Linked DNA regions of Homo sapiens: all the other regions are linked to region 1. Evidence: promoter capture Hi-C in 16 types of primary human blood cells and fetal thymus (Javierre and others, 2016). All regions are on one chromosome and are shown on one strand. Each heading gives the region's core, a stretch centred on a gene start or on the middle of the fragment in contact. The rest is flanking DNA. Distances are from core to core; before and after follow the strand shown.

What was found. The method cuts DNA at HindIII sites, captures the fragments that hold promoters and counts their contacts. A CHiCAGO score of 5 or more calls a contact.
Region 2: a contact is called between a fragment that was not itself captured here and the fragment with the promoter of GAB2 in region 1, in 12 of 17 cell types (neutrophils, M2 macrophages, monocytes and 9 more). The highest score is 21.1, in neutrophils.
Region 3: a fragment that was not itself captured here is called in contact with the fragment with the promoter of GAB2 in region 1 in 2 of 17 cell types (M2 macrophages and naive B cells); the score reaches 5.5 in M2 macrophages.
Region 4: a contact is called between a fragment that was not itself captured here and the fragment with the promoter of GAB2 in region 1, in 17 of 17 cell types (megakaryocytes, total B cells, naive B cells and 14 more). The highest score is 35.3, in megakaryocytes.
Region 5: a fragment that was not itself captured here is called in contact with the fragment with the promoter of GAB2 in region 1 in 8 of 17 cell types (monocytes, neutrophils, M2 macrophages and 5 more); the score reaches 11.1 in monocytes.
Region 6: a contact is called between a fragment that was not itself captured here and the fragment with the promoter of GAB2 in region 1, in 11 of 17 cell types (neutrophils, monocytes, M2 macrophages and 8 more). The highest score is 22.3, in neutrophils.

Annotation. Positions count from the first base shown.
Region 1 is chr11:78,416,199-78,420,134 of GRCh38, reverse strand. It overlaps GAB2 (GRB2 associated binding protein 2), which reads left to right and starts at 2,315. Exons shown (of 10, transcript NM_080491.3): 1 at 2,315-2,489. The coding sequence starts at 2,415. RefSeq lists silencers at 1,926-2,545, 2,656-2,755, 2,826-2,955, 3,418-3,712 and an enhancer at 2,575-3,329. The HindIII fragment of the contact is 5,597 bases long and covers 1-3,936 here.
Region 2 is chr11:78,240,031-78,243,966 of GRCh38, reverse strand. All of the region lies in intron 3 of GAB2 (GRB2 associated binding protein 2), which reads left to right. Among named protein-coding and RNA genes, the nearest start is that of USP35, 53 kb to the right of the region's middle. The HindIII fragment of the contact is 5,982 bases long and covers 1-3,936 here.
Region 3 is chr11:78,590,516-78,594,451 of GRCh38, reverse strand. No RefSeq gene overlaps it. Among named protein-coding and RNA genes, the nearest start is that of NARS2, 18 kb to the right of the region's middle. The HindIII fragment of the contact is 7,888 bases long and covers 1-3,936 here.
Region 4 is chr11:78,566,240-78,570,175 of GRCh38, reverse strand. NARS2 (asparaginyl-tRNA synthetase 2, mitochondrial) reads left to right here. Exons shown (of 14, transcript NM_024678.6): 3 at 1,424-1,544; 4 at 3,904-3,936. Among named protein-coding and RNA genes, the nearest start is that of NARS2, 6.7 kb to the left of the region's middle. The HindIII fragment of the contact is 856 bases long and covers 1,325-2,180 here.
Region 5 is chr11:78,261,096-78,265,031 of GRCh38, reverse strand. The region is part of intron 2 of GAB2 (GRB2 associated binding protein 2); the gene reads left to right. Among named protein-coding and RNA genes, the nearest start is that of USP35, 74 kb to the right of the region's middle. The HindIII fragment of the contact is 1,710 bases long and covers 1,345-3,054 here.
Region 6 is chr11:78,278,207-78,282,142 of GRCh38, reverse strand. It overlaps GAB2 (GRB2 associated binding protein 2), which reads left to right. Exons shown (of 10, transcript NM_080491.3): 2 at 1,242-1,542. Among named protein-coding and RNA genes, the nearest start is that of USP35, 91 kb to the right of the region's middle. The HindIII fragment of the contact is 2,120 bases long and covers 1,186-3,305 here.

The DNA of each region.
Region 1 (3,936 bases), core at 1,066-3,565:
TACGAGGTCAGGAGATCGAGACCATCCTGGCTAACATGGTGAAACCCCGTCTCTACTAAAAAAAAATACAAAACATTAGCTGGGCGTGGTGACGGGCGCCTGTAGTACCAGCTACTAGGGAGGCTGAGGCAGGAGAATGGCGTGAACCTGGGAGGCGGAGCTGGCAGTGAGCGGAGATCACGCCACTGCACTCTAGCCTGGGCAACAGAGCGAGACTCCGTCTAAAAAAAAAAAAAAAAGCTCCTTTCTTTAACCTTTGGGGAAAGATGGGGGTGTTCAGAGAACCCTTCCCAAAGTCGATACCTGGTGACTGTTGTATTCATATTTCAAGGTCCCTCCTGCCATTGGCCAAACAAGAAACATCAAACTTTTCCATTTCCACATGAAATTGTAAATAACACCATCTTTTCCTAAGCAAACAAAATAAGACTTTAAGGAATTTCTGGCAGAATATGACCTAACCCCCACTAACTCTTGCTAAACAGTCTTCCAGTCTGTGTATTGAATCATGTAACTATCAAAGGATACGTAAGACTACTCTTCTGGGGGAAGATAGGGCATACGTATGCCTGACTTGCATCACAAACCTCAGCTGCAGCCAAACCATGCAGATTTCTCCGACTCTGCAATCTCTGGGACTTGGCACCATGACTCAGATGTGAATGAAGTCAGGATAGTTTTATTTTGGTTGGAAGTCACCGCCTCCTGATTGATTTGGCAGACGTTAAGTGTTGTTTGTCTTACAGGGATTTAAGGTACTTAAAGCCAGAAGTTAAAATGGCCATCATTCTGGTGGTGGCCCTTCATACGTGACTTAAGGATCCCTAAATTGTAAGGTTAAGGGAGCTGTGGTCCCAGCCTACCAGTTCTGGCTTTACTTCCCATCCAGCAGCACACTGGATATTGAAGAAAGTCAGTGAAATGTTAGATCCAGGGGACTGACCGCTAAAACTCCCAGGGTATCTAGAAGAGCTAAGTACGTGGTAGGGGATTCGCTTTTCCAAATTGAGGAGGGTGAACTTCCCCCAACCCAATCAAGATCTTTTGGACCAAATGATGTCCAACTGCTTGAAACAACTCAGCTGCACAGAGACAGAAATAAACAAAACAGCTTTAGTCTGAGGTTGTGTGGGGCACTGCAAGATGCTGCTTCTCCAATTCATCTGTCCACACAGCACGGTTCCCCATTGAATAAACAGGTTACTATCCACTTATCAGAGAAGTTAGGGAGGACCTGCCTTTTAATGCTGCTTAGAGAGACACTTTGTGATGAGAAAAGAGCTCGTACAAAAGATTTTTTTCTCCCCCCTCCCGCTGAAGTGCTGGGGTTGTGTGCTTCCACGTACATCTGGGATACCATTATATTTACAAACAGAGGTCTCATAGCCTGTGTCAATGAGCGGGAACGTTGGGGAATTTGGACCCCAATTTCTTGTTCTTCTGCACTTGACCTTGCCTTCCAATTCGTTATGAAATACATTGACTAGTTTTGCTTCTTCCATTCTACAAATCATGCGAATTTTCTATACTAAACTGTGTTTTCCCAGAGGCAGTGTAGGAGGGAGTCAGCTGGACTTGGTTTCCAGGCAATGAGAGGCTCCCAGGTCGATCCCATTAAGGCAATGCCCTCATTTTGAATAGCAGATGACCGGGACCCCTCCTCCCCCACACACCTGAATTGGAAAATTGGCTCGGCTTTGTACAAGCCCTTGCCCTTAGGCTGTCCATAAAATAGGAACAATACTGAAGACAATCCTGTAAGCTACAAAAGCAAAGGCTCCGGCGCGTAGTAGGTCCGTCTCCTCCTCCCGCCGAGGGACGCCAGAGTTAAGGAGCTTCTTGCTGGGAAGGGGTCCCTCCTTTCAGCCGGAACCTGACCCGCAGAATGTATCGGAAATGTGAGCAGCCCTAGTATCCCTTCCCCGTCGACGCTCGGTGAAAAATCGATCGACGACCGAGGGCGCGCAGTCCCTTCCCCTCACACCCGCCAGCGCCAGGGGCGCGGTCGCCTCCCTGGCCTCCGCGCCCGCGGCTTGGGGCCTCAGGAGAAAGCGAGACTCCGGGGCGCGCCGGCGGCGGTGGCTTTCTGTATCCTCGCGGGTCCCTAGCCCCGCGTCCGCGTGCGCGGCGGCCTCGGGGGCGCGGCGGGAGCGGGCGTGGCGAGCGAGCCGGCCTTCCTGCTGCAGCTGCTCCCCCGGCGGCCGGGCGGAGAGTGCGGATTGCGCGCGCTCGGGGCGGGGGAGCGGGCGCGCGCGAGGCTGCCGGGCTCGCGCCGCGCCGCGCCGCCTAGTCCCCGCCGGGCCGCCCGCCCCGCCCCTGGCCTCCCGCGAGCTGCGCACCGCCGGCCGCTGCCCCAGCTGCCCGAGCCCGCGCCCTCGTCCGCGCGACCCGGCGGGGGGCTCCAGGCCGGCAGCATGAGCGGCGGCGGCGACGTGGTGTGCACCGGCTGGCTGAGGAAATCGCCTCCCGAGAAGAAGTTGAGGCGCTATGTGAGTGCGGGCGCGGCCGCCCAGGGGCGGGCGGGGGGCGCTCCGGGGCCTGCGGAGGGGCGGGGGACTCCCGGAGGGGCGGCAGGCTGGGGAGCTCGGGCCCGGAGCCGCGGGGGGCCGGGGGCGAGGAGCGGCCGGGGGCGTGTGGGGCACCTGCACACCTGTCACAGGTGGGCCGCCGAGGGGCGGGGCGGGCGGCAGGTTGAGGCTGCGGCTCCTGCTCCGCCAGGCGGGTGCGGCTGCGGCGCCTCCCAAGCCGGTCTGCTCGTGAACTAAATACAGTGTCGAAGTTTTGTATTGATGGCTTCTGGAGACCGAGAGAGTTGACTCTCGGGGCTGGGGCTCCGCGGCAGCCCCGAGCAGCTTCAGCCCGCAGGGTCGGGGAGAGGGCGGGAAAGGGGGGCGTAGGCTGTGGGGCCGCGCGGACGGCCCCACAAAGGGCGAGCGCCTCACGCCCTCTCCTTCCCTTTCTCCGCCTGCCCCTCCCGGCCGCCGGCCTCCCTCCGTCCGCGGCTGCATCACCGGCAGCGTCAGCGGCATGTGCAGCCCTTGTATTAAGTGACTCATTTGTTTGTCCCCCTTCTTTCCCTTTATTCCGTTCGTCTCTCACAGGCGCCTCCCCCCGACCCCGGTGTGACACTGCAGTTTGGTCCCCGTGGCTGGCCCGGGTTTGGGACCGGGCAGCTCCCGGGTGTCTGGGGTCGGGAGAGATCGAGGCTCTCCGCGGCCAGGTGTTGCCAACCGACAGTGTTTACTGAGATCGCTGGAACAGCCTTTTCCCTCTAGGTGGGGAACTGGCAGCCTGGGGGAGGTGGAACAGCGTGGCGCTGAGCCGTGGAGTTCTGGCTTTTTTTTTTTTTTTTTTTAACCCCTCTCCCCAGAGGATGCCTTGCCTGGTGAGGTCAAAGTACAAGATGGTGCCAGTTACTGAGATTTGGCCGAAATGGTCTTGGGGTAGTCGCGGGAGTTTGGAAGTGGGGGTAAGGTTGCTGGAAGGTTTCAAGGTCTCTCATCTGCTCCCTCTCCGTTTCCCATGAAATGCCCTTGTTTAACGGGCTGTGGTGCCGAACTCCGGGATCACTCCCACAGCCTGGAAGGGAGCCGTTGCCTCCAGCTGCAGTGCATCAAGGGAGCTCGGAATAGACCCTGCCCTCTGTCAGCTGCACCAGTGGCTGTCCATGGGGGGAGAGGCAGAAGCCTACCAGAATTTCCTGTCTTGGCTCCCCAGATCAGAATCAAGGGACTTCTGGCCTCTGGACTGAGGAAGTGACATTCTGTTTTTCAAAGGAAGTGTTGTTGTTGCGGAGTACAAGTGTGTGTCAATGAAATCAGGCTCTTAGGTAGATGTTTGCTGGGGGAAAAAAATCTAAGGATTTAGCACATGAGTTTTGAAAGTGGACGTGGATTTATAGGAGGAATGAAGCAGTGAATTGTTCATCTCAGTTCG
Region 2 (3,936 bases), core at 1,023-3,522, 180 kb after region 1:
TTCTATTTCTTTTGGGTTCAATCTTGGTAAGTTGTGTTTGTCCAGGAATTTATCCATTTCTGTTAGGATTTCTAATTTGTTGGTGTATAGTTCATAATCATCTTTTTTCTTTTTTCTTTTTCTGAGACAGAGTCTTGCTCTGTCCTCCAGGCTGGAGTGCAGTGGCGCGATCTCAGCTCACTACAACCTCCGCCTCCCGGGTTCAAGTGATTCTCCTGCCTCAGCCTCCCAAGTAGCTGGGACTACAGGCACGTGCCACTGTGCCCAGCTAATTTTTTTTTTGTATTTTTAGTAGAGACAGGGTTTCACCATGTGAGCCAGGATGGTCTCGATCCCCTGACCTCGTGATCTGCCCGCCTCGGCCTCCCAAAGTGCTGGGATTACAGGCATGAGCCACTGCACCTGGTCCATAATCATCTTTAATGATCCTTTTTGCATTTCTATGCTGTCAGTTACAATGTCTCCTTTTTCTTTTTTATTTTATTCCTTTATCTATTTTGAGACGGAGTCTCGCTGTGTCACCCAGGCTGGTGTGCAGCTGCGCGATTTTGGCTCACTGCAACCTCCACCTCCTGGGTTCAAGTGATTCTCATGCCTCAGCCTCCCGGGTAGCTGGGACTACAGGCGCCCACCACCACTCCTGGCTAATTTTTCTATTTTTAGTAGAGACAAAGTTTTGCCATGTTGGCCAGGTTGGTCTCTAACTCCTGACCTCAAGCAGTCCACTTGCCTCTGCCTCCCAAAGTGCTGAGATTACAGGCATGAGCCACCATGCCCAGCCTTTTTTTTTCTTTTTTTTTTTCTAGACAGAGTCTCACTCTGTCGCCCATACTGGAGAGTACGGTGGTGTGATCTCAGCTTACTGCAACCTCCGCCTCCCAGGTTCCAGCGATTTTCATGCCTTAGCCACCCGAGTAGCTGGGATTACAGGCGTGTGCCACCATGCCCACTAATATTTGTATTTTTAGTAGAGACGGAGTTTCACCATGTTGGCCAGGCTGGTCTCGAACTCCTGATCTCAAGTGATCTGTCCGCCTCAGCCTCCCAAAGTGCTGGGATTACAGGCATGAGCCACCACACCCAGACTGATTTTGTATTTATTTGGATCTTTTCCCGTTTTTTCTTGGTCAGTCTTGCTACTGGTTTGATTTTGTTTATTCTTTGAAAAAATTAACTTCATTTTGTTGATCAGTTTTATTTTGTCTCAATTTTATTTCTGCTCTGATCTTTTTTTTCCCCTTTTACTAATTTTGGGTTTGGTTCTTGTTTTTCTGCTTCCTTGAGATGCATCATTAGGATGTTTATTTGAAAATTTTCTACTTTTTTGGTATTAGCATTTATTGCCATAAACTTCTCTATTAATACTGCTTTTGCTGTATTCCATAGGCTTTGGTATGTTGTGTTTCTATTTTCATTTGTTTCCAGACATTTCTAAATTTCATTCTTTTTCTTTTTTTTTTGTTTTGAGACGGAGTCTCGCTCTGTCGCCCAGGCTGGAGTGCAGTGGCATGATCTCGGCTCACTGCAAGCTCTGCCTCCCAGGTTCACACCATTCTCCTGCCTCAACCTCCTGTGTAGCTGGGACTACAGGTGCCCGCCACCACACCCAGCTAATTTTTTGTATTTTTAGTAGAGATGGGGTTTCACCGTGTTAGCCAGGTTGGTCTCGATCTCCTGACCTCGTGATCCGCCCACCTTGGCCTCTCAAAGTGCTGGGATTACAGGCATGAGCCACCACACCCGGCTCTAAATTTCATTCTTAATTTTTTCATTGACCCATTAAATCATTCAAGAGCATGTTGTTTAATTTTCCATGTATTTGTACAATTTTGAAATTTCCTCTTGTTACTGATTTCTAGTTTTATTCCATTGTGGTTAGAAAAGATGCTTGATGTGATATCAATTCTTTTAAAATCTCTTGGCCTAACATGAGGTCTGTCCTATAGAATGTCACATGTGCTAATGAGAAGAATTATACTCTGCAGCTGTTGGATGAAGTGTTGTTAGGTCCATTTGATCTAAAGCGCAGTTTAAATCTAATTGTTTCCCTGTTGATTTTCTGTCTAGGTGATCTGTCCATGCTGAGAGTGAGGTGTTGAAGTCTCCAACTATGATTATATTAGAGTCTGTCTCTCCCTGTAGATCTTAATGGTGTTCCATAAGTCTTGCAGGTTTTCTTCACTCTTTTCATTTGTATTCCCCCTTTCCTTCTGGCTGGGTAATTTCAAACTACCTTTCTTCAAGTTCAGATATTCTTTCTTCTAATTGATCAAGTTTGCTGTTGAAGCTCTCTGTTGTGTTTTTTATTTCATTCATTGAATTCTTCAGCTGCAAGATTTCTGGGTTTTTTTTTTTCTTTCTCTTTTTTGAATTTTTTTGTTCATATTGTGAATTCTTTTTCCTAATTTCTTTGAATTGTGTGTGTTTTCTTGTACCTCATTGAGTTTTCTTAAGGTCATTATTTTGAATTCCCTTTCTGTAATTTGTTGATCTCCTTTTCACTGGGCTCTAGTTACTAGCCAGAGTTCCTTTGGTGCTTTTTTGGTGTTATATTTCCTTCCTTTTTTGTGTTTCTTGTGTCCTCATGTTAAGTGTCCATGCTTCTGGTGGAAAGATCACCTCTTCCAGACTTTCTGGAGTGGATTTCTTAGAGAAAGACTTTCACCTGCAGTTGGGTTTTAGTGTTCCAGTTGAGAAGGATGTGATGACTGTGTTTCCACTTAGGTGCAATGGTATAGTCTCCATGCAGCTTCTTTGCCTATGTTCAACATCAACAATAACTGGGAGTGCCTCAGTGGCCTAGACTATAGAAGTTTGTGCAGCAGCGGTGGTAGCATAGGTTGTTAATATCCTTAGCGTAAAGGGCTTTTTGGGTCTTTCTCTTCTCATTTTCCCCAAATGAGGAGACTCAGTCAGGGGGATCCCTCTTAGTGTCAGGTCTGGCATGGCCTACAAGTAGCTGCAGCAGTGCTGGGTTCTAGGTACTGGTGCTTGGAGCTTATGTGGCGTTGGGTTTCTAAGCTCAGAGTCTCATGAACCTATTGTGGCAGCTGGGTCTTGGGGTGCAGGTTCACTCTCCGTAGCATGGTTGGATGTGGACTGCCCTCCGGGCCAGGATCTATGATATGACTCTGTTGAACCCTCTATCAGCTCAGGTCAGGGGCCAGCTGTGATTCTACCCCTGGTAGGCAGAGCACAGCACTGGCCTCACCCTGGGCAAGAAGGGATGTTCTGGAGGTTTGGTTTCAGGGAGGAGGATACAACTAGAATTTGGGAACCTGAGTCAATAAGGCTCAATGGCAACTTGGGTCCCAGGGATTGATACACCATGTAGCAGTGACTCTACATGGTCCCTCTTTAGGCTTAGCAAATACCCGGGAATGGCAGAGTATAGCTGTGTTTTGGGCTACAGAGGGGCAGGGAACAGCAGAGCAATGACTCTACTCCCCAGGGAGAGGCGTATCTCAACAGCTCAGACTCTAGGGGGCTAGTGCAGCTCCAGGAAAGCAAGGCACTAGAGTTGTTTGGCCTGTAGGGCAGGGTGTCTCAGCTCAGACACTGCTCTTTTTCCCTGAAACACAGGGTCCTGTATCAGCTCAGCCTTGGAATGCACCCCCTCTCAGCTCAGCTAGGGCACCCATTCCCCAGGGGACAGTGTGCTACTTCAGCTCAGGCCCAGGAGGGTGTGACTGTTCTGAGTAGCCCAGGCATCCTTTCCCTGGAATGCAGGGAACCATATTATTTTAGCTACTGGGGTACCTCATTCTGGGGAGTCAGTGCACCGTTTCCTAGGATGCAGCCACTGGCTTCAGCTTAGGCACTGTGGAGGCATGACTGTTCTGAGCAGCCAAGATACTGTTTTCCTTGAAGAGAGCATACTGCTTCAGCTCTGGCCCAAGGGAGTGGGGAGAGGGGCAGGTGGATTAGCTTTACTTC
Region 3 (3,936 bases), core at 951-3,450, 170 kb before region 1:
TGAGAAATGTCTTTGTGGGGGGTGGGGGAGGGACATGTACCCAGCTACAATTCTGGGCTTCTGTTATTAAAAGGAGGAAAATGGATATTGGATAATACTAGTACATTTTACTCTAATGAATTTAAAATATTGTTTTCTGAGTCCAGGGGCATCACTTCAAAACTGTGACCCATAAGCCTCAGATGGGCCCCAATTCTGCCTGGCAATCTTTCTCTAGTCCATTAACTCTCCCACTCTCCTAAATGATCCAAATAATTCTTTCATAATCTTTTTCCTCTTTTCAAAACTCTAACATCTACTTTGCCATTCTCTCTCTCTCTCGTGTGTGTGTCTGTCCATCCGTCTTTCTCTACAGAAAACCTTCCTTCCTATTTCATTGTGAAATAGAAGCAAATTAAAGAGGATGTCTCTACAAGTTCCCACTATCATATATACCCCCACATACCCATCAATCTTCATGTGCGCCCATGTCCTCTACCTTCTCTGTGCTAATATAAAGTGCTCATGATGTTATCAGCTAAGGCTAGTCCTCCACTTGAACACTAGATCACACCCCCTTTCACCAATTCAAACTCATCAACACTAGGAATTTTCTTCTGTCTTTCCTGTGTCAAGTTTTCCTCTCTTCTAGATCTTTCCCTTCCGGTTTCTGGTCTAGCAAGTAAGGAGCTTGGAAGTCATCACTCCTGTCTTCACAACAATAAAAAAGCTAAATAAACTGAAAATCAGTTGAAGTAACAGGGCACACTTCTGTCCCCCAAACTGGAGAGACAAATGGGTAAATACAGAGAATCACAACTTACTGGAATAGAAGCCCAGGGGCAGAAAACTCTGCAAGAACGAGTACTGGGGAACGAAAAACCCAAACTATAATAGATGAATTGCTGGAGGCTCTGTGTGGACAAGTTTGAAAGTTAAAAACTCCAGGGCATGTGGCCAGTCATACTGGATTTTACCTCCACTTTCGTGAGTTTTACCTCCAAGAACCCTACCAGGTTCTCAGGGTGAAGATCAGCAAAAAAAAAAAAAACAAAAAAAAAATCCTCATGCTTCTGGCAAGAGGAGGGGAAAAATAGCCATTCGAAATATGCCAAAGTGTCCAGCTCTTCTTAACAAAGCCTGCTCTCAATGGAAACTATGTTATCAGAGGCTAGCTGACTGGATTTTACCAGAGACTAATCACAGGAGAAGGAAAATACCCAACTCCAGCCCCTTTTTGCCAACTAAAGCGGGAAAGAACTGAGAAGCGCTTGTGAAAGGTGCAGCCCAGGAGCACAGGCTCGCTAAAGTCTAAGACCTAATCACAGGTCTATAGAATTCTTCCTCTCTCTCCACACCTCACCACTATATCAACAGGACTTATCTGTATGATAATAAGGGAGTACAACAGAAATAACTGCATGTTATTTCTGAGACCTCCCAAGAAGTCTCTAGGGAAATCCAAAGATAACAGGTGAGACAAAAACAAGGACACCGGAGGAAATTTTTGCCTCTGACTCCCACAGCTACAACAAACAGTAAACACAGCCTAACTTCTAACTAGATAAATAAGATAAATATACAACTTCCCACTGAAGACTTATTTACAGGCCGGGTGTGGTGGCTCACACCTGTAATCCTAGCACTTTGGGAGGCCAAGGAGGGTGGATCACTTGAGGTCAGGAGTTTGAGACCAGCCTGGCCAACATGGTGAAATCCCATCTCTACTAAAAATACAAAAATTAGCCCAGGTGTGATGGCTCGTGCCTGTAGTTCCAGCTACTTGGGAGACTGAGGCTGGAGAATCACCTGAACCCAGGAGGCGGAGGTTGCAGTGTGCCGAGATCACGCCTCTGCGCTTCGGCCTGGGTAACAGACCGAGACTCCATCTCAAAATAAATAAATAAATAAATGAAAATAAAGATGTATTTACCTCAGTTCCTTTTATCCACTACATTGTGTCCAACTTTCAACAAAAAAATTAAAGATAAAGATTAAAAAAAATAAAATTACAAGATAAACTAAAAGACAAAAAAAAAAACACAGTTTGAAGAGACAGAGCAAGCATTAGAATCAGACTCAGATATGGCAGAGATGTTAGAATTATTAGACCAGGAATTTAAAACAATGGTGATTAATATGCTAAGGGCTCTAATGGAAAAATCAGATCTTTCTTATCACCAGACAAACATGCTATTATTTCTCACATATTAAAGAAGTCCGCTTTCATGACCACATTCTTCCACCAGTTACCACCTCAGTTTTTCTGCTCCCCTTACAACAAAACTTCTTGAAAACCCTGTCTCCAATTTCTCTTCTCCCATTCTTTTTTACATACCATTTTTATTATAGAAAAATCTCCAACATGAATAGTACAATGAATTCCTGTGTATGTTACCCAACTTCAATATTTTTCAACATTTTACCAGTCCTATTTCATCTATTCCATCTATACTGTTTTATTTTTTTTCTGAAATATCTAAAACCAAATTCTAGATATCACATTTCACCCATAAATTCTTTAGGATTGTATCTTTAACAGCGAAGAATTTTGTGCATAATTCCTCAATATCAACTAATATTAGGAATTAAAGGACGTCATTACAGATCCTACAGACACTGAAAGAATAATATGAACAATTTTATGCCAAGAAATTTAGCTGCTTAGATAAATTTCTCAAAACATACAACTTACAAAAACTGACGGAAAAAGAAATACAAAATCTGCACAACATCATATTTATTAAACATGTTAAATCTGTAATTCAAAACCGTCTCATAGGCCGAGTGCAGTGGCCCATGCCTATAATCTCAGAACTCTGGAAGACTGAGGAGAGGGGATTGCTTGAGCCCAGAAGTTCAAGACCAGCATGGGGAACATAGCAAGACCTTGTCTCTAAAATAATTAATTAATTTAATTTAATTTAACTTTCTCATGAAGGAAGCTCTAGGCCCACATGACTACACAATGAATTATATTCAAACACTTAAAAAGGAAATAATATCAATCTTAGAGAAACTCAAAAAATAATACTCTGTGCTGTTGAACTATTTTTATGTCTTTAAAAAATATATCTTTTCTCTGTTGACTTAAGTCATAATCCAAGTAAGCATTCATGCATTACATTTGATTGCTATGTGTTTTATTTTTCCTTTAATCCATAATGTCTCCTCTCTTTTTTTTGAGATGGAGTCTCGCTCTGTCGCCCAGGCTGGAGTGCAGTGGCATGATCTTGGCTCACTGTAACCTCCGTCTCCTGGGTTCAAGCGATTCTCCCACCTCAGCCTTGCAAGTAGCTGGAATCACAGGCACGTGCCACCATGCCCAGCTAATTTTTGTATTTTTAGTAGAGATGGGGTATCACCATCTTGGCCAGGCTGGTCTAGAACTCCTGACCTCAAGTGATTCACCGGCCTTGGCCTCACAAAGTGCTGGGATTACAGGCGTGAGCCACCACGCCCAGCCTCTCTTAGCCATTTTCAAGTACACAGTACATTATTATTAGCTGTAGTCACCATTTTTACAATAGATCACCCGAACTTACTTGTGTCTAACTAAAACTTTGTACCTTTTTATCAGCATCTCCCCATTCCTCATAACCAGACCCTGGTAATCACCATTCTACTCTCTGCATCTCAGATTGACTGTTTTTAGAGTCATAAGACCATGCAATATTTGTCTTTCTACGCCTTGCTTATTTCACGTAGCATAATGTTTTCCAGGTTCATTCATGTTGTCACAAATGACAGGATTTCCTTCTTTTAAAGAGCTGAATAGTATTCCATTGTGTGCATGTACATTTTCTTTATCCATTAATCTGTTAATGAACATTTAGATTGATTCCGTGTCTTGGCTATTGTAAATAACGCTTCATTGAACATAGGAGTGCAGATATGTCTTTCATATACTGTTTTCATTTTCTTTGGATATATACTCAGAAGTAGAATTGTTGAAGC
Region 4 (3,936 bases), core at 503-3,002, 150 kb before region 1:
CTCTGTCGCTCAGGCTGGAATGTAGTGGCATGATCTCGGTTCACTGCAACCTCTGCCTCATGAGTTCGGGCAATTCTCGTGCCTCAGTCTCCCAAGTAGTTGGGATTACAGGTGTGCGACACCACACTGGACTAATTTTTTGTATTTTTAGTAGAGACAGAATTTTACCATGTTGGCCAGGCTGGTCTCGAACTCCTGACCTCAAGTGATCTGCCTGCCTCAGCCTCCCAAGGTGCTGGGATTACAGGCATGAGCCACCACACCTGGCCCTAATATTAATGGTAACCTTTTAAACAACTTTGTAATTGTTTTGATTATATCAGTATAGCAATCACATGGGTCTAATGGGACCTAGATTTTAGATTTCTGTAGGATGACTGTCTCTTTGAGATATTCCCAGGAAACCTTAGGATATACTTATATTCATATATGTCAGGTAGTACATATTTTAAGTCAGAGCATCTCAAATTACCCTCTCAGGTTGATGAAAGTATACCAGATTTCCCCACCCATAATGCAATAGTGGACAATCTTATTTATATAAATTATATAAGAATAGCATATATTTAGCAAGCAAACAAAACTGGATGGAGAATCTCCTGACTTATTTACTTCAATAAAATTTATTGTATTGCTATATTACAATATTTCAATAGTTTATTAGGAAGGCACTTATTGTCATACTTACTGTAATTATGAAATGTTAGAACTAGAACAGATGGGCTGGGCGTGGTGGCTCATGCCTCTAATCCCAGCACTTTGGGAGGCCAAGGCAGGAGGATTGCTTGAGCCCAGGTGTTCGAGACCAGCCTTGACAGCATGGTGAGACCTGGTCTCTTTAAAGAAAAGAAAAAAGAATTAGAACAGATGTACTATCATTTACCAGCTCCTTTTTTGATAGATGATTCTTAAATGAGCTTAGATGACTTTCCATAGTTGTCATACAGTTAATCTATGGGAGAACTTGAACTCGAACCTAGTCTTATTAACTAGAAAGTAGCACCTTATGTGCTTAGATCACCAGTCAACTAAGTAAAAAAAAATTTTTTTTTAATTGCAAAAATAGGACAGAGAATTCCCGGCAAATTTTATTTTGATTTGCAGTTTTCCCATGTATTCTGTAATCTTTTAAAAAGTGTTTTGGCCAACTAACTTTTTAATAAGGGCAATTGTACAACCTCTTAATTCTGAATTAATTATACAAATTCTTAACTCTATTCCCATTTTAAAGCTTATGGAATTCATTTTATAACTTTATGCTCTATTTATACGACAGATTATCCATAGATTCTGAAGATTATTTAACCCAATAAGGGTAAAAGCTTTTGTCATTAAGTATTTTAATATTCTTATTGCAAAGTTGATATTAAAATGAAGGTTGTATATAATGATATCTTGTTTATCTTGTTTTTTGTTACTATAGAGAATTAAATTTTGGGAGTTCTGTGGAAGTACAAGGGCAGCTGATAAAAAGTCCATCCAAAAGGCAAAATGTGGAACTGAAGGCAGAAAAAATTAAAGTTATTGGAAATTGTGATGCCAAGGTATGATTTCTGACACTTTTGTGGAGGCTGTTTAGGCTTTAATTAAGACAGCAATCTGTTTTAAGTGTGATTATTAGGAAGATGAAACTTAGAATATATTTCATTTGTGACAGATAATTGAAACAAGCCATATGACCTGTAGAGGCAGTAGCAAAAATTATTTATGTACATAGCTTAGTGAGAGGTAAGTGTTGATTTTTGCATCTCTGTGGTGTGTGTCACAGTTAAAACTTGCTGCTTTTACAAGCATGCCCAGTCAGCCACCATGATATACCAGGGTGGGCTCATTCTTAGGAAAGCCAAGAATGACTTTTGCATGATGTAGAACCGATCATCCAATAATGGTAGGCTCTAGCCACCTTTGGCTGTTTGGTATTAAATCCATTAAAATTCATTAAAAAAATCCAGTTCCTCAGTGGCATTACCCACATTTCAAGTGCTCAGTAGTTGCATGTGGCTACTGGCTACTATATTGGATAGCACAGAATATTTCCATTTATCACAGAAAGTTCTGTTGGGTGATGCCGATCAGTAGTATTGTAAGGCTTAGGCCGAATAGAGGCAAGAAATTCTGTATTAAGACATGTTTATGCCTGTTTTTGCAAGACTCTTCTGTTAGCTTCATATATATAAGCTTGATAAAGAGGTTAGAGAGAATAAAAGATTATTAATGAAATTCTTTAAATTTACAGTGGAGAAAATGAGGCCCAGCCAGATGAAGTGATTTGCTTAACATTATGAGCTGATGTGGCACAGCTGAAATTTATATTCTAGCCATTTGAATCCTCTGTGTTTTTGCTACACCTGTCTTCAAATATTTAATGAACAAAAATGAGGAAATATAGGAAAATTGCATCATTTTAATTCATTGTGTATTCTTTCAGTATAATAGGAAGAAATGTAAGGAAATAAAAGAAGAAAATGCAATTTTTATTAAAATGTCATCCTTAATTTCCAAGAAATTCTAATTGATGTAAAATCAGAAATCAGGTTCTAAGATTTCTGAGAAATAGAGTGTAGAATAATTTGGAAATCAAGAGCGTAATATAGACGGTAACCATTTTTCTTTTTGTTTTTTTTAGAGGGATCTGTGATTACTAAAAATTTGCCGTGTGTTTCACTGTAGTAGTTCAACCTTGTCTGTGGTTTTGCTTTTCACGGTTTGTTGCCCACGGTGAACTATGGTCTCAAAATACTACATGGAAAATTCTAGAAATAATTCTTAAATTTTAAATTGCATGCCATTCTCATTGTGTCATGGAATCTTGAGCCGTCCTGCTCCATCCTGCCTAGAATGTGAATCATCCTTTTGTCCTGCTTATCTGTACTTTATACACTACCTGGCCATTGTTGTGGAAGAAAAAACATAATGTTTATATGGTTTGATACTGTCCGTGGTTTTAGGCGTCCACTGGGGGTCTTGGAACATATCCCCTGTGGGTAAGTGGGGGACTACTATATTCTTAAATTGTTCTTCCTTGGCTTCTGTTGGTGTTGATGGCTTCATCTTCCCTGAAGCCCTCTGATTCAGTATCATTTTGAAGTATTCCAACATTAGGGAATTCTGACCCCTAGAATTATGATATGGTCACATTTTCACTTTTAGTAAGTATAGTGCTTGTTTCTATACGACATAAAAGTTTGTATTTGTACAAGACTTAGAATGGATGAGACTGAAAGAAACAGGCTGCCAGTGTAGCTCTTTTTTAGCTTCTCTGTTATCTTTTTAATTAAAACTTTGATTTTTGTCTGAAAGGATGTGTCTGTCTTAATCTTGTAACATGAATGTGAGCAGTGTAGACATATTTCAATGTGGAGCCATAATTTTCTTTCAAATTTTTTGTAAATCTTTACTACTCTGCTAGATGGAAGTAGCACGTTGATAATAGTAATGAATTGCACCAATTGATTATGAATGATATGGGCTTTCAAGACATATAGGTAATTTTAAAATTGAACACCAGCCTTGTGTGTACATCTTTAATATCTACAATATTTTGAACTCCTGTGTGCCAAACAGTGGATATTTTGCATAATTAATCCTAACCTATTTGTAGGAAGTGGTTCACAGCTAATGGATACAAACTTGATAAATAACAGATGAGCTTCAGTGATATTAGCTCAGTTACTTGGCTAATAAGTAGTTGAGCTAGATTCAAACCTACATGTCTCTGATTCCGTCCTACCATTCCACTTACCTGGTGGAAATAATGTGGATTAAAATCAGTTATATTAAGAAATAAAGAAGGAAAGGATCTTAGTTTGGTTCCAAAGCGCTATTTAAGAAATACCCTGGAAACTGATTTTATTAAACAGTATCTCTTTTGACTTCTAATTTGTTCTTTTCATTTATTGGCAGGATTTCCCCATCAAATATAAAGAGAGGCATCCT
Region 5 (3,936 bases), core at 950-3,449, 150 kb after region 1:
AAGATTAAGAATCCACTTAAAGCATATAGCATAGTGTTTGGTACACAATAAGTACATATTAAATGTCTGTTGAATCTGTGACTAATAACTTGTTGCTGCCTTCTCTGTGATCTTCACAACAGCCCTTTGGAGACGTCTACCATGCTACTTTTATCTCCCGAAAACTAAAATATCCTAAATAACCCCTATCTCTGTTTTGCCCAAACTCAAAAACCTTTTTGCTATGTGTGATTAATATGTTTATCAAATAATAAATCTTGCTGAATTTCCTGATTTGAGGGGCATTACACTTGTCGTTGTGGTACTCAAAAACAAAGATGTCTTGGCCGGGTGCTGTGGCTCACGCCTGTAATCCCAACACTTTGGGAGGCCAAGGGAGATAAACCACCTGAGGGTCAGGAGTTCAAGACCAGCCTGGCCAACATGGCGAAACCCCGACACTACTAAAAAAAAAAATACAAAAATTAGCTGGGCATGGTGGCACGTGCCTGTAGTCCCAGCTACTCAGGAGGCTGCGGCAGGAAAATCACTTGAATCTGGGAGGCGGAGGCTGCAGCGAGCTGAGATCGTGCCACTGCACTCCAGCCTGGGCAAAAAGAGTGAGACTGTGTCTCAAAAAAAAAAAGAAAAAGAAATTTTTAAAAAATTCCTTTCACAATGGCATCAAAAAATAAAATACTTAGGAATCAATTTAACAAAAGCCATCCTAGATCTCTGTACATAAAACAACAAAACATTACTGGGATAAATTAAAGAAGACCCAGAATATGGAAAGAGAGATCGTGTTATGGAGAAGACTCAGTATTGTTAATATGTCAGTTCTCCCCATATTAATCAGTAGATTCAGTCCAATCTCTGTCATGATCCCAGCAGGCTTGTTTGTATTGACATCAAAGCAAATTAGGAAGTACTATATAATATATGAAAACAGTACTATTTAACACAACAGCATGTCAATAATAATTCAGACCTTTTTCAGTTACAATGTTGGACTTTTTAGAGAATTTTGTGGAGATATGTTAGATTGGTAAATAAAAGCTGTTCTCATTTTCCTTACAGTAGAAAAATATACCCAGAAGTTATGTTTATTGCTCCCCCAATGAGATGTTTTACTTAAAAAAAAAAAAAAAAATTGACAGGAGACTGACATCCTTGCCCAGGTGACTAGGCACTCAGTCACTGGTAAGAAAATCACTTGATCTCTCTGAACTGTAGGCTTTCTGTCAGTAAAGTATTAATATTAAACTAAATGATCCCGTGGGTTATTTCCAGACCTGTGCTTCTGTGATATGGAAAAAGAATAAATGGTTAAGAATCAGAAAGAACAAGCTGGTGATTTAAGCTTGTTAGTACAAGTTTACCATATTAGACTGTTGATTTTTTTTTTTTTTTTTTCCCCCAGACAGAGTCTCACTCTGTCGCCCAAGTTGGAGTGCAGTGGCGCGATCTCGGCTCACTGCAACCTCTGCCTCCTGGGTTCAAGCAATTCTCCTGCCTCAGCCTCCCTACTAGCTGGAACTACAGGCACCCACCACCATGCCCAGCTAATTTTTTGTATTTTTAGTAGAGATGGGGTTTCACCGTGTTAGCCAGGATTGTCTTTATCTCCTGACCTCGTCATCTGCCCGCCTTGGCCTCCCAAAATGCTGGGATTACAGGTGTGAGTGACTGCGCCCGGCCAGACTCTTGAATCTTTAAATTCTGTATGCTGACCAACAACTAGCACATTGTTTGTGCCTAAGGTGTGCTCTAATAAAAAGGAATATGGTTTCTTATAATAATACTAATGGGCTCTTCAAACTAGCTTATCTTGTCATTTCTTCTCTTGGTTATTTCAAAGCATAAATTTGGGATTCGATGGTTTCAGTTTTAGCTTAAATCTGTATCCTTGGTGATGAACTTAAATTAGATGCTAATATTTTGAAGGAGGACATGTTTATGCAAACCAGAGTGAGAACTTTTAGTCTAAGGGTCAGCAAACTTTCTCTGTAAAGGGCCAGATAGTAAATACTTTAGGCTTTGTCATCTGTACTTTGTAGCAACTACTCAGCTTTGCTGTTGTAGTATATATGCAGCCATAAACAATTATGTAAATAAGTTGATACAGCTGTGTTCTAGTGAAACCACAGAAACAGACCAGATGTAATGTATGGGCTGTAGTTTGCTGACCCCTGTTCTGGTGTAATAATATGCTTTGGCAGGCCTGCTCAAATAATGTACTCAGTATGCAGGCCCACTCAGTACAGATAGTATTTTGGCCTTCCCAGTGGTGTTAAAAAGACAACTCTCCCTTTTGGACTGCAATTTTAAAAACCTAGAGATGGCAAGGCAACAAGACACAAGTCTGGGAGATGAGTAGGGAAACTACAGATGTGAAACCAGGAGATTATTGGGACCCCCGGGACTGGAGGCAGGGGCTGAGAAAGAGCTGCCAGCTACAAGCTGGGTCCTGCGAGGCTCTGTAGCTGAAGTCCTCTACTCAGCACATGAAGGGCAGCTGACCCCATTTTTGTACCCTCTGCGACAGATCCTGCCTCTGGTCAAACCCTGAAGGTCTGGGAACACAGAGTTCAAGATCTTTTCCCTCACCAGGTTACCTCCCACAGTGCAGTGCTGAGGGCCAGCTACCATTTGTGGAGCACCCATGTGCAGGGACTATGTCATTTCTTATTCCCCAGAACAATTCTTCAGGTAGCTGTTTTATAAATTTTACAAATTAGAACTCTTGGATTCAGGTACCATCCCTAGGTTTCACAACTAGTAAGCTGAGATTCGGACTCCAACGTGCATGTTCCTTTCCCAGTAGCACACTGCTTCTCCTGAAGCCGAAGTTCCCCTTCAGAGAATTATGTAGATCTCATAATTCCCTAGGCAAAACTGGAGCTCTTTGAATCCTAGCCTAGCCATCCACACTATACCAGTTTAAGGTGCAATCTTGTGATTATTGCCGCTGATCACGATTCTTGATAAGCATCCACAACTGATAAGTCTGACGCTTCTGTTTTACACCAATTGCCAGTTGTCTCAGAGTCACTGTGAAAGGAGGGAAAAGCTTATCTCTTATAAAGTTGGTTAGCTTCAAAATACAGTGATGTATTTTGGATATTTCTGTGGAAAGGTTACAAGGGTCAAATGCATCATTAATGTGAACTTAATATACCCACTTGATGGATTGATTCCTGTGGGAAAACTAATGGGTTCCCAAAGTTCCTCGGGGGAGGGCTGAAGTGCTCCTCCGAGTATAAATTTGTTCTTTCTGACTGCATGTAAGCTCATAAAGCATAGGCCACCCTTTGGGGCTGGCCTGCAGCTCAGTAGTGCCTCTCGTACCTGCTCCAGACCCTAAGTAAATCACAAGAGTGCTTCATTTCAAATATGAATGAATCCTTGATGGGACCAACTAACCAACCCAAGCCCCACACGAAGGAACAGGAGAAGGGTCTGCCGCAGCTAAGGGGTACGATAGGTATAAACAAAGCTTGTAACCTGACCTCTTGCAAATCAACAGCACAGTGCATGGCTAAAGATAGACTTGCTATCCCCAAACAGAAATACACACAACCCAGAAAACCTCACTAAGTGATAACAATTTCTTGTACCCTAAATAACTGTTTACATTTGGATCTCATTTGGTCATTCTTCTAACCCAGGGAGGAAAGATTCCAACAGAACTTGCTGCTCTAGTGTGTTTATTGAAGATCGCCTTGTTCTGGTTCTGGTTCTGGTTTTTGTTTTGGTTTTGTTGAGACAGGGTCTCACTCTGTCGCCCAGGCCGGAGTGCAGTGGTGTGGTCACAGCTTACTGCAACCTCGACCTCCTGGGCTCAAGTGATCCTCCCACCTCAGCTCCCCAGCCCCCCAGTCTGGGACTGCAGGCATCTGCCACAATGCCCAGCTAATTTATATGTATGCGTGAGATATATATATATCTCAGACA
Region 6 (3,936 bases), core at 996-3,495, 140 kb after region 1:
GGTATAAGGAGTTTACTCATTCAGTAATACATATTGAAAGCTTAGTAAGGTACAAGGCATTATCATAAGGACTAAGGAAACATCAATGAACAAGACAGGAAATATAATCCTGAGGTTACATGTTTTTAGAGCAGTTTCTCTGTGATTCTTCTAAGGCATCATGTTTTGGTTAAAAGCAGGTTGTACTAAAAAGTTAGAAAACTTGTTTTTCTGCTACTTACTGTGTGTAACATTGTTACTTCAACTCACCCTGCCTTAGTGGGGGTCCCCATGGATAAACTGATTATGGCTTTGCAAGTTCTCCCTTGCCTAAAAATGCTGTGAGTTTGGATCTGTATTCTAGCCTAAAGAAATAGTTGCTCTAAAGTGTCATCATCTAACTTCCTGATCTAGACAGTGGGAATGCCACATCTTACTTTATAGTGATAAGACCCTGTTTACATAGTGAGATGCTGCACAAACATGCATTCCAAAGTAATCCTCCATTTTTGAAACTTGGGAAATCTGAAAAGGGGACAGGTCATGTGGCACCTGCAGGTCCCACAGTCCCCGTCTTTAACCTATGATATCTGAGGACCTATTAAAAGCTTTAAGGTCGTCTGGGCATGGTGGCTCATGCCTGTAATCCCAGCACTTTTGGGAGGCCGAGGCAGGTGGATCACCTGAGGTTGGGAGTTCGAGACCCGCCTGACCAATGTGGAGAAACCCTGTCTCTACTAAAAACACAAAATTAGCCAGGCGTGGTGGCACATGCCTGTAATCCTAGCTACTCAGGAGGCTGAGGCAGGAGAATCGCTTGAACCCTGGAGGCGGAGGTTGCAGTGAGCCAAGATCATGCCATTGCACTCCAGCCTGGGTAACAAGAGTGAAACTCCATCTCAAAAAAAAAAAAAATGCATTAAGGTCAGGCACAGTGGCTCATACTTATAATCCCAGTGCTTTAGGAGGCTGAGTTGGGAGGATCTCTTGAGACCAGCCTAGGCAACATAGCAAGACCTTGTCTCTACAAAAAAATGTTTTAATTAGCTGGGCGTGGTGATGTGCGTCTGTAGTCCCAGCCACCCAGGAGGCTGAGGTGGGAGGATCGCTTGAGCCCAGGAGTTCAAGATTGCAGTGAGCTTTGATTGTGCCACTGCACTCCAGCCTGGGCAACAGGGCAAGACCTGTCTCTGAAAGAAAAAAGCTTTGAAATAACTAATGACTTCTTCCCCCTCTTCTTACTCCTTCCTGATATGATTTAGGCCTGGAAGAAACGCTGGTTTATCCTGCGGAGTGGCCGGATGAGCGGTGACCCAGATGTTCTGGAATACTACAAGAACGATCACTCCAAGAAGCCTCTGCGGATCATCAACCTGAACTTCTGTGAGCAGGTAGATGCAGGCCTGACCTTTAACAAGAAGGAGCTGCAGGATAGTTTTGTGTTTGACATCAAGACCAGTGAACGCACCTTTTACCTGGTGGCTGAGACAGAAGAGGACATGAATAAGTGGGTCCAGAGCATCTGCCAGATCTGTGGCTTCAATCAGGCTGAGGAGAGCACAGGTATGAGAACGCACACAGATCTTTCTCATAGGGGGTTGAGGTGAGGCCCTTGGATTCCTGGAGCATTGAGAGCAGGCTCTAGCTAAGGTTTCCTGTTGGAAGAGCGTTCATAGATAAAGGGTAAAGAGTGTGAAGGGGTTGGCCAAATATTAGAGGGACACCTGGCCCTAATTATGCTCTAACTGGAAACCAAAAAAAAGTGTTGGGGTTGTGATAAAGCTAAAGGTATTTGTGGTGTTTCCTTAGGTGCCTCAACACCACTGCCGTTCCTCATCCCTCCTGTTTTCTCTCTTCCCTGTGCTGTCCAGCACTCTGTGTCCCATTATCTGTCACCCATCCCATAGGGAAGGTCTCACCTTGGTCCCTTCTCTCCTTCATCTCTGTCTGTCCTAGCCCATTTCAGGCCATCCTGCACAGTCACACTTGACCCTTGTTTGTGCGGGTTCTTTGTGATGATTATTGACGATTCAGTGTTCATTTATGTTTACTTGGGAGGGGACAGATAAAAGGAGGAAACAGTGATTTATGTTTGGGTTTTTATAATCTTCACAAAAGAGTAGCTCACCTTTTTGAAATGAGTGTTAAATTGTAGAAATGCTCCTTAACATTTGTTTAGGCTCATCTCAAACTCTCTGGGATGGTTGAAGAGCAGAGTTTTTTCTGGGGCAGTAGAATTGACCCAGGAATTCTACTCGCAGGCATATTCCCAAAACATGTTTACACAAACACTTGTACAAGAATGTTCACAGCAGTATTATTCATAATAGCCAAAAAGTGGAAACAACCCAAATATCCATCAATAAATCAAATATGGTATATACATATATATTACTAAGCCATAAAATGGTATGAAGTACTGAAAACATGTTAAGTGAAAGAAGACAGAGAGGACCATCTTTTTATGATTCCGTTTGTATGAAGGCTCAGAGCAGGCAAATCCACAGAGACAGAAAGTACATTGGTGGTGACTGAGAGTGACAGTGTGAGAAGCGACTGCTTATGAGTATGGGGTTTCTTCTTGGAGTGGTAAAAATGTTCTGGAATTAGATAGTGATGATATTTGTACACTTTCATGAGTATACTAAAAACCACTGTATTTTACACTTTAAAATGCTGAAATTTATGGCGTGTAAATTATGTCTCATTCTTTAAAAAAAAGTTCCTCAGGTGATTCTGAGGACCAGCCAGGTTAGGGAGCCCCTAGATGTAAGACCAGGTTCGTGGACATGTGAACTGTGGAGTCACAAAGAGCCCCATCCTTAGAAGGTCTTGCACTTCGTTTAACACTCCACTATTACTATCTTGAAGTTCTTAATAGTTTTTTTAACAGGAAGTTCTGCGTTTTCATTTTACACTGGGCTCTGCAAATTATGTAGCCAGTCATTCCTGAACTAGATATCCTAACCTAGGAATTCTGTGATTTTTATCTTCCTTGGGGAAGGATAATGAGCCCCTATTTATTAAGTTCTTTGGTATAATCTTCTTGCTTCCTGAGTGGAATTTCCTGTTTTCCCCAAATCTTTGTCATTTATAGGTTTCATGGAGGTTGTTTTTGTTTTTTTCCTTTATTTTATTCCTGATGGAGAGCAATGCATATTCAGTAAAAAAAAGTGGTAGAGGGAAAGGGGCCCCAGCTGGGGCAGCATAGCGAGACTAGAGTGCAGTGACACAATCATGGTTCACTGTAACATTTTTATTTCGATAAAAAATAAAAATTAGCTGGGCATGGTAGCATGCCTGTAATCCCAGCTACTAGGGAAGCTTAGGTAGGAGGATTGGTTGATGCCAGGAATTCAAGGTTGCAGTGAGCTGTGATCACACCACTGCACTCCAGCCTGGATGACAGAACGAGACCCTGTGTCCTAAAAAAAAAAACAAAAATGTTGGGGGTGGGGAATAAGAAACGAATTAAAAGGCCAGGGAGCTGGGCACAGTGTTTCACGCCTGTAATCCCAGCACTTTGGGAGGCTGAGGCAGGCAGATCACCTGAGGCCTGGAGTTCGAGACCATCCTGACCAATAATGGTGAAAACCCGTCTCTACTAAAAATACAAAAATTAGGCTGTGGTGACGTGCACCTGTATTCCCAGCTACTCAGGAGGCAGAAGTGAGAGAATTGCTTGAACTCAGGAGGCAGAGGTTGCAGAGACAAGATCGCACCACTGCACTCCAGCCTGGGTGACAGAGGGAGACCCTGTCTCAAAAAACAAACAAAAAACAAAAAAAAAAGCAGACTGGGCACGGTGACTCACGCCTGTAAGCCCAACACTTTGGGAGGTCGAGGCAGGTGGATCACCTAAGATCAGGAGTTCAAGACCAGCCTGGCCAACATGGCGAAACCCCATCTCTACTACAAATACAAAAATTAACCAGGCATGGTGGTGGGCGCCTGTAA